Regions from separate parts of the Homo sapiens genome. Here all the other regions are linked to region 1. Evidence: promoter capture Hi-C in 16 types of primary human blood cells and fetal thymus (Javierre and others, 2016). All regions are on one chromosome and are shown on one strand. The core of a region is centred on a gene start or on the middle of the fragment in contact, and the rest is flanking DNA. Distances in the headings are between cores, read along the strand shown.

Region 1 (2,641 bases), core at 61-2,560:
TCCAGCCTTGAATATACCCAGTTCTTCATGAGACTGGCCCATGAGCTCCAGAGCAGGAAGATATAACTTACTCAACTCTAAACACTCCAGTTCCTGGCATAGTGTTGAGAAATAGCTGGTACTCTGGGGATATTAACTAATCAGAACTAAGATGACCTTCACATGCCAATTCCAATTCCCAGAAGTCTTCTCCCTTTGGGAGGATGCTGAGAAATTGTTTGTAGGTGTAAAGTATCAGTATGAATGTTTTTCCCCAAAATTTAGTTCCCTTGTATGTTCCTCGATAATCAGGAAATTCAGAATAAGGTTTTTGCTCAATAGCAATGCATCCCTTAGCTTCAGCTTTCTCATATAATTACCCCCATTCCCACCCCATCTTTAACTTGGTCTGTGTCTTTTATATTTGTTTGCATTGATCTGTCTATTTCTTCCATCCTTTGACAAGGAGTGTTTTAAAACATACTCTATTTTTTAAAAATATCTAAGAAAACCATTGAATCTAATTCTTATTTTATTAAATATTCTCTACTAAGAAGGACCCAGATCTAGGAGACAATTAAAATGTTTGCCAGTTCAGCATCTCAGACTCACTTCTGTTCTCAGCTTGATGATTTCAACATCTCCCTTTCCCCTTTACAGGGAGAACACAGTAATATAGATTATTGGTTTCAAGCTCCTTGTATAGTAAAAATGTCTTTAGAAAGCAAATATCAATCACGTTTTTAAAATAGCACAACATAGGTAAGCAAGGCTTTGCACACCAAGCAAGAATTTTTTTTTTTTTCTAACTCTGCCTCTGGGCAAGGAGAGCAAAGCATTGAAACATCTGAATCAACTGGTATCTCCACTTTTGTCACATGGCTAAATGGGGGCCTTTATTTTTAAACACATGATTGACACCCATCTCTCAGGTTTGGGTCAAATACGGGCCATCTTGTGGGCAGACAGAGGAATCAGATGACTTATGAGGTCCCTGCCAGCACTATGATTTGTCAGACAGAAATGTAATTATGTCCTTAGGTTAAAAAATGGGGGAGGGAAGCCAACACTACCTTGAAGAGCCTTCAAAACTATAATCTGCAAAAGTCAGTAAATGAATCAAGAAACCCCCTCCCCTTTCTTTTGATGCATCTGAAGCTAAGATTTAATTGAAACTGCCTAAAGAAGGAAATAAAATTAAGACAACTGACAACAGAGCAGGGGAGACTGGATTTGGTGGTGATGTCAGGTCATTAGACCCAGAGGGTGTCTCCTTCTTAACTGTGCAATTAGGACCTCAATAAAAGGTTCCAGCTCCTGCTGTCAGCTCACAGCCCGCTGCCCCACGTTCTACCTGCTCTCGCTTGTGAACTAGGTAAGTCCATCTGCTTGAGCATACTTGGGATTTCAGTTGCTGTTTTGCTTATATGTGAGATTGCAAGAGGATTTCAAAGGAAACACACTTTAAGTCTATGTCAACCCCTATTAATAATAATAAACTGGGAGCGCCAACCACCCAAATGCATTCCTTGATTATGGAACTTCTTTGATCATTTTCTTTTTAAAAAAAACATAAATTGTTTAGAAGTCATAGGCATGAATATTATTCAACAAGGCACAGGATCAGATCTCTATTGCAATGAAAATGTAGAAGCATTTAAAGGATGGGAAATGAATGAATAAGGGGTCGGGACATGGAATCATGTCTTCTTGGTTAAAGCATGTTGTTACCACCTGCAAACATAGGGGTTAATTTTCTTGGTGTGACTTATCTTTCCACTAGAAGCTTTGCTAACTTTAAAGGTTATACCCTCCTAACCGCAGGAGGCTAGACTGAGCCAAAGGGAGAGGAGAGCAGATAGACACTCTTGGATGAGGCTGGAAGAATGGGTCCAACTCTATTGGCTTCATTTATGCATTTCAATCCTTATGCTTGAGTTCTCTTATCACCTTCCTTTTGCAATGAAGCTTTCTCTGAGCACATGAATGTTGCTGTTTACTGAAGAGTGGGGTGAATTGTCTCTTCTAATACTTACCTATGCTGGGTCTGATTTCACCACAATGTCTGGTACAATACTAAATCACCCCTGGAGTTCAGATATAATATTTTAAGATACAGAATAGAGCAGGGGTTGCAGTGGAGATGGGGGAGGAACAAAAAGGATAATCTTGGTATCTCCTCCCTGAAGGACCCATCCTGGAAAATGAGCTTTGTTTATTCTTTCTCACAGCCTCTCCTGAGTTTGTAAAGATGCCTCAGCTCCTGAGAAATGTCCTCTGTGTAATTGAGACATTCCACAAATATGCCAGTGAGGACAGTAACGGGGCAACACTGACTGGCAGAGAGCTGAAACAACTCATCCAGGGCGAGTTTGGGGACTTTTTTCAGGTGAGCTTCTCACAGAGCTGTGTAAATTCTTTCCAACTCACCCTTTCTTTATAATCCAAGCAAGATGAGCATATGTGATCCCCATCCATTTTACACCTAGCTAACAGTTCTCAGCACTCACTGTCTCTTGAACAACTATTTTCAGTCTCAGTTCCATACTCTGTGCAATTACTTAGAGAAAAAGAGGTTTTCGTCACTGGGATTATTGCTTCTGCAAAGCTGACTTCTGAAAGGAGTCATAAACCATTATGCATCAAAATGCAACTCACAAGT
Region 2 (2,641 bases), core at 92-2,591, 370 kb before region 1:
GGATAGGCAAGTCTGAAATCCATAGAGCAATTTCGTTTACTTAAAGTGAACTGATTACAAATATTAATCACATCTTTAAAATACATTTACAACAAAACCTAGATTAGTGTTTGGTTGAATAACATATAACTGATCAACAAATAGAGTTTATTTTAGAAACAGTTTCAAACCTCTTTCAAATTTGAAAGGCAATTAATGATTAATTAACATTAATAAAGTAAAGGAGAAATATAATATGGTCATCACAATAGAAATAGAAAATAATAATAAAAGATATTCAGATTAGAAAAAATAAAACTTATTATTCTCAGATGACATGATTGTGTTCGTGTAAAATCAAAAATAATGTACAAAACAACTAAAATTATAACTAAACTTAACAAGGATGATAGATAAAAGTCAATTTACAATAAATCAATTGTATTTTGATTTATTAGCAACCATCAAATAAGAAATAAAAATTTTAAGATATCATTTATTATAGCACCCACAAACATCAAACAAACAGAAATAAATCTGTTAGAAAATGTGCAACTTCTCTAGGCTGAAAACTATAAAATAGTACTGAGAGAAATGAAAGAAGTCCTAAATAAATGAAAAAATATTCAATATTTATGAGTTAGAAATTTGATATTGTAACATGTCAATTATCTTCACTTTTTTGTATAGAGTTAAAGAAATTCTCATCCCAGCAGGGTTTTTTAAATAAAATTGACAGGCAAATTCTAAAACGTGTATGAAAATGCAAAGAATTGGTCGGGCGTGTTGGCTCTGCCAGCACTTTGGTGGATCACCCGAGGTCAGGTGTTCGAGACCGGCCAGCCTGACCAACATGGTGAAACCCCTTCTCTACTAAAAATACAAAATTAGGGCCGGGCGCGATGGCTCGCGCCTTTAATCCCAGCGCTTTGGGAGGTCGAGGCGGGCGGTCACGAGGTCAGGAGTTCGAGACCAGCCTGACCAACATGGTGAAACCCTGTCTCTACTAAAAATACAAAATTAGGGCCGGGCGTGATGGAGCGCGCCTGTAATGCCAGCTAATCAGGAGGCTGAGGCAGGAGAATCGCTTGAACCCGAGAGGCAGAAGTAGCAGTGAGCGGAGATCGCGCCACTGCACTCCAGCGTGGGCGACAGAGTGGGACTCCGCCTAAAAAAAATTAATAAATATATACAAAATTAGCCAGGCGTGGTGGCGCATGCCTGTAATCCCAGCTACTTGGTAAACTGAGGCAGGAGAATCGCTTGAACCTGGCAGGCGGAGGTTGCAGTGAGCCAAGATCGCGCCATTGAACTCCAGCCTGGGCAACAAGAGTGAAACTCAAAAAAAAAAAAAAAAAAAAAGGAAGGAAGGAAGGAGCAAAGAGAATAGCCCAGCCAGCCAATATTTTAAAAAGGGATAAATTTGCGAGATTTATACCGCCCGATATCAAAATTTGTTATAACATTGCAGTAACTACGACTGCGGTATTAGTTTGAAAGTAGAACAATAGAACAAAATAAGAAGTCAAAAACGTTCCCATACATATACGGCCAACTAAGTTATGACAAAACTCCACTGCAATGTAGTAGGGGAAAAAAAAATGGTAGGAAATGATTCTGGGTCATTTGAATATCCATGTGGGGAAATAAATGAACCTTGACCCCTACCTCAATCCATACAAAAATATTTGTAAGAAATGGATCATAGACCTAAATGTGAGGGTTAAAATAATCCAGCTTCTAAATTAAAACAGAAGAAAATATACTGGGTAGACAAAGATTTCCTAAACAGGACATAAAAAGTACTATTTTATAAAAGAAAAATTATTTTATATTTTATAAAAGAAAAAACTGATAAATTGAAATCCTTAAAATTAAAAACTTTTAGTTCTTGAAAGACATTGAAAAGAGAGCGTGTAGGGAAGCAATAGGAAGATTTTGTGTCATATCTATCTGTATCTATGGCTACAGTTGTGTAACTTCTTTTATTTTTAATTCGCTGATTCCCCACGAGAGGGCGCCTTTCCACAAGTCCTTATTTAGCACAGCACTGATGGCCATAGACAATGCTCGAGCCTGGCTTTCTAGCACATCTCCATTTCCCAACACAGAGGCTAAGCCCTTTGTGGGAGGCACACATGTAGTCAGACAATCCTGGTAATATGTGATACGTTTGGGGAAAAATTTTTTTTAACAGTGACTTAAGACCTGGTAAGGTATCTGTGTGGCCAGATTAAAGGATAAGAGTGAGTTAGTAAAACCTAAAATGAACTGGGCGTGGTGGCTCACGCCTGTAATCCCAGCACTTTGGGAGGCCGAGACGGGCGGATTACGAGGTCAGGAGATTGAGACCATCCTGGCTAACACGGTGAAACCCCGTCTCTACTAAAAATACAAAAATATTAGCCGGGCGTAGTGGCGGGAGCCTGTAGTCCCAGCTACTTGGGAGGCTGAGGCAGGAGAATGGCGTGAACCTGGGAGGCGGAGCTTGCAGTGAGCCGAGATAGCGCCACTGCACTCCAGCCTGGGCGACAGAGCGAGACTCCGTCTCAAAAAATAATAATAATAATAAATAAAATAAACCTAAAATACAGGCAGTTCGTCTCTTTTTAGAAGTCAAAACCTTAACATCTGGGAGTGTCCGTATGAATTTTGGCCCCTA
Region 3 (2,641 bases), core at 45-2,544, 270 kb before region 1:
CCTCATCATCATCATTATCACCTGGTAGCAAAGTACAGCAGAATTGGCTCTCCATGCTTAAGACTTACAGCTCTCTGATTATTTTTGTTACCCTCAAGTGTATTTGATATACTTTCTGTACATAAGTGAACATTTTCCCAAGGGTCCAGGCCCTAAACATGCCAGACTACCAGTGGATCGCAGAGTGCTGGAAGAAAGCTCACTCTAAATTCACCCTGAACATATCTGAAAACATTATTTTTATATATAGCCAATTACACTTTTCTAGCCTAGAAATGAGCCTTCACAAGGTCAGAGAATGTTTCCTCTCTTCCTAACAGCACTCTGTATGTTACTTTTTTATATTATTTGCGTTTGAGTGGGCCTTACACTCCTAAAATGGTGCATAATTTTTGCATGATAGTTATATATGATAAATACACAGAGGTAAGTTAGTATAATGGTAAACAGCAATTGCAATAAGGTAGATACAGGTTCAACTTCTGGTTTCTCTGCCTACTAGCTATGACCTTGGAGAAGATCCTTATGCTTCCAGAACCTGTCTCTATAAAATGGGATAATAAATACATATCTCGTATGAAGGTTGTGAAGATTAAATGAGGTGATAAGATCTAGTATTTGGTAACATAATATGGTAACTATAGTTAACTATTTATTGTATATTTTTAAATAACTAAAATAGTAGAATTAGAATGTTCCTACTACAAAGAAATGCTTGAGGTGCTGGATACCCCAATTACTGTAATTTGATCATTACACATGGTATGCCCATATCAAAACATCACATGTACCCAACAATTATATACAACTATGTACCCATAACTAAAAGTGCAGATTTTTTAAAGATTGAGATGGTTTGTTTAAAGTATTTAGCACATAGTAAATTCTCAATAAATGTCACTTTTTATTATTACAAAAAAGACATGAATTAGATGAACCTAGTGGCTCAGGTTCATTTTCAATTAAATAAGCATTTATTGTGCACCTTCCAAGTATCTTACACTCTGCTACTTTCTGTGGGTACTAGTTAAAAGAAATGTATAACATGAGTCCTCTAAAACAAAGTCTGTGCTTTTCACATGTATATGACCCTGAAAAAAAAGGTATCTTGCAACCATGTCCTCGTACTGGAAGGTGGGGCTGGTACTAGCCTTTCTGCAATCATCTGTAGATAACAATGTGAAGGAGGAAGGTAAATATGTAGAGGTGGAGTTAGGTTTGATGGAAAATGAATCACCTCATTCACTATAATCACTATAAGCTATATAAGGGTCATTATCCCAATCCATCGTCACCCTGCAAGCTGCATCAGGCTTTATCCTACTTGTTCCTTTGGTGAACCAGGTGAGAGAAAATTCATCCAGCTACATTTATGAATATTTGGTGTTGTCCATAGTAGAAGTCTAGGGATATAAGCTAAGGCAGAGTTCATGTATATTTTGCCTTTCTTTTCTTTTTTGTTTCTTTCTTTCATTTTCTTTTCTTTTTGTTTGCTTATTTGTTTGGTTAGTTTAGTTTATTCTGGGGCCTTTTTGTAGTTAAGTTCATTTTTATGGAGAAGAATAATGCAAGTAAAAGTTCACCTTCCTCTAGGCCATTCCACAGTCTGTTCCGAGTCTTTTTCCATGCCCTCTTTTCTGGGCTGTCCAGCTCAAACTGGGAGGCAGCTGGGTCTGTTGCAGAGTCCCTTCCTTATTCAGTGTTGGTTCCCAGAGCTCCAAGATCTAATTATCCACTAGTTAAACTGCTGCCTGCATTGCTGAGCTCTTCTTCTTGATTAATTAAAGAAAACAGTGTTTGGTCAAGTGCTTGACATTAAGAGAGTTCCTAAGCTCTACTGAGTTCTACTGTCTCATGCCTATGAAACACCAAGCTATTTTGAGCCCCTTTGCCCATTTTTAATTTGCTGAAGGCCTTAAGGGTCCAGTTTAGCTTCTGGTGCCCAGAGGATAAACAGATGTGCATGGTGGAAGGTCTGTCACTTTTGACTCAAGAAAAGCAGTGAAACTAGAAAGAGAGATTGAGGCAATGGTGTCTGGCTGGTTCTGGAAATTTTGGAAGCCTTAGAACAACACCCAGAATGCCAACACACTCAAAGTGTAGAGATACTATGTAGAGACTATACTTACCCATGACAGGAAATATAGAGACTTGAGGTCTATTCTCAGTTGAACCAGTAACATGCCAAGACTTGATCACAGAAAAGTAACTCAAAGTTAACAAAGTTAATTTTCATTGTGTTAAACGGGGTTGTATCATCCCTGGCCCATTCTTACGTTTTGAGATTTAAAAAACAAGAGGTTAAAAAAATCATGCTGGTTATTATTAAAATGAAAATTGCTGATAAAAGGAGAGAATATGAATAATAGGGTTCTTTGTTTTTCTGTGTCCAGGTTCACTTAAACTTGCAAAAAGATGACCGACCTCTTGAGAAGTGTTGTCACCGTAATTGATGTTTTCTACAAATACACCAAGCAAGATGGGGAGTGTGGCACACTGAGCAAGGGTGAACTAAAGGAACTTCTGGAGAAAGAGCTTCATCCAGTTCTGAAGGTGAGAGCCATGTGCCAGAACTGAAGGCTGCTGGAGTCCTGTACAAGCTCTGTTGTATGACCCAGATCAGCTAAAAAGTGCACAGCCC

Evidence for each region. Contacts are between HindIII fragments. The CHiCAGO score rates a contact against its expected background, and 5 or more counts as called.
Region 2: a fragment that was not itself captured here is called in contact with the fragment with the promoter of TCHHL1 in region 1 in 3 of 17 cell types (M2 macrophages, total CD4 T cells and naive CD8 T cells); the score reaches 6.7 in M2 macrophages.
Region 3: a contact is called between the fragment with the promoter of FLG2 here and the fragment with the promoter of TCHHL1 in region 1, in 5 of 17 cell types (total CD4 T cells, naive CD8 T cells, naive CD4 T cells and 2 more). The highest score is 6.6, in total CD4 T cells.

The regions. Positions count from the first base shown.
Region 1 is chr1:152,087,733-152,090,373 of GRCh38, reverse strand. TCHHL1 (trichohyalin like 1) reads left to right here and starts at 1,310. Exons shown (of 3, transcript NM_001008536.2): 1 at 1,310-1,354; 2 at 2,211-2,368. The coding sequence starts at 2,231. The HindIII fragment of the contact is 6,885 bases long and covers 1-1,767 here.
Region 2 is chr1:152,461,117-152,463,757 of GRCh38, reverse strand. No RefSeq gene overlaps it. Among named protein-coding and RNA genes, the nearest start is that of CRNN, 48 kb to the right of the region's middle. The HindIII fragment of the contact is 5,711 bases long and covers 1-2,641 here.
Region 3 is chr1:152,358,659-152,361,299 of GRCh38, reverse strand. FLG2 (filaggrin 2) reads left to right here and starts at 1,294. Exons shown (of 3, transcript NM_001014342.3): 1 at 1,294-1,344; 2 at 2,394-2,553. The coding sequence starts at 2,416. The region is part of intron 7 of CCDST (cervical cancer associated DHX9 suppressive transcript); the gene reads right to left. The HindIII fragment of the contact is 5,522 bases long and covers 1-2,641 here.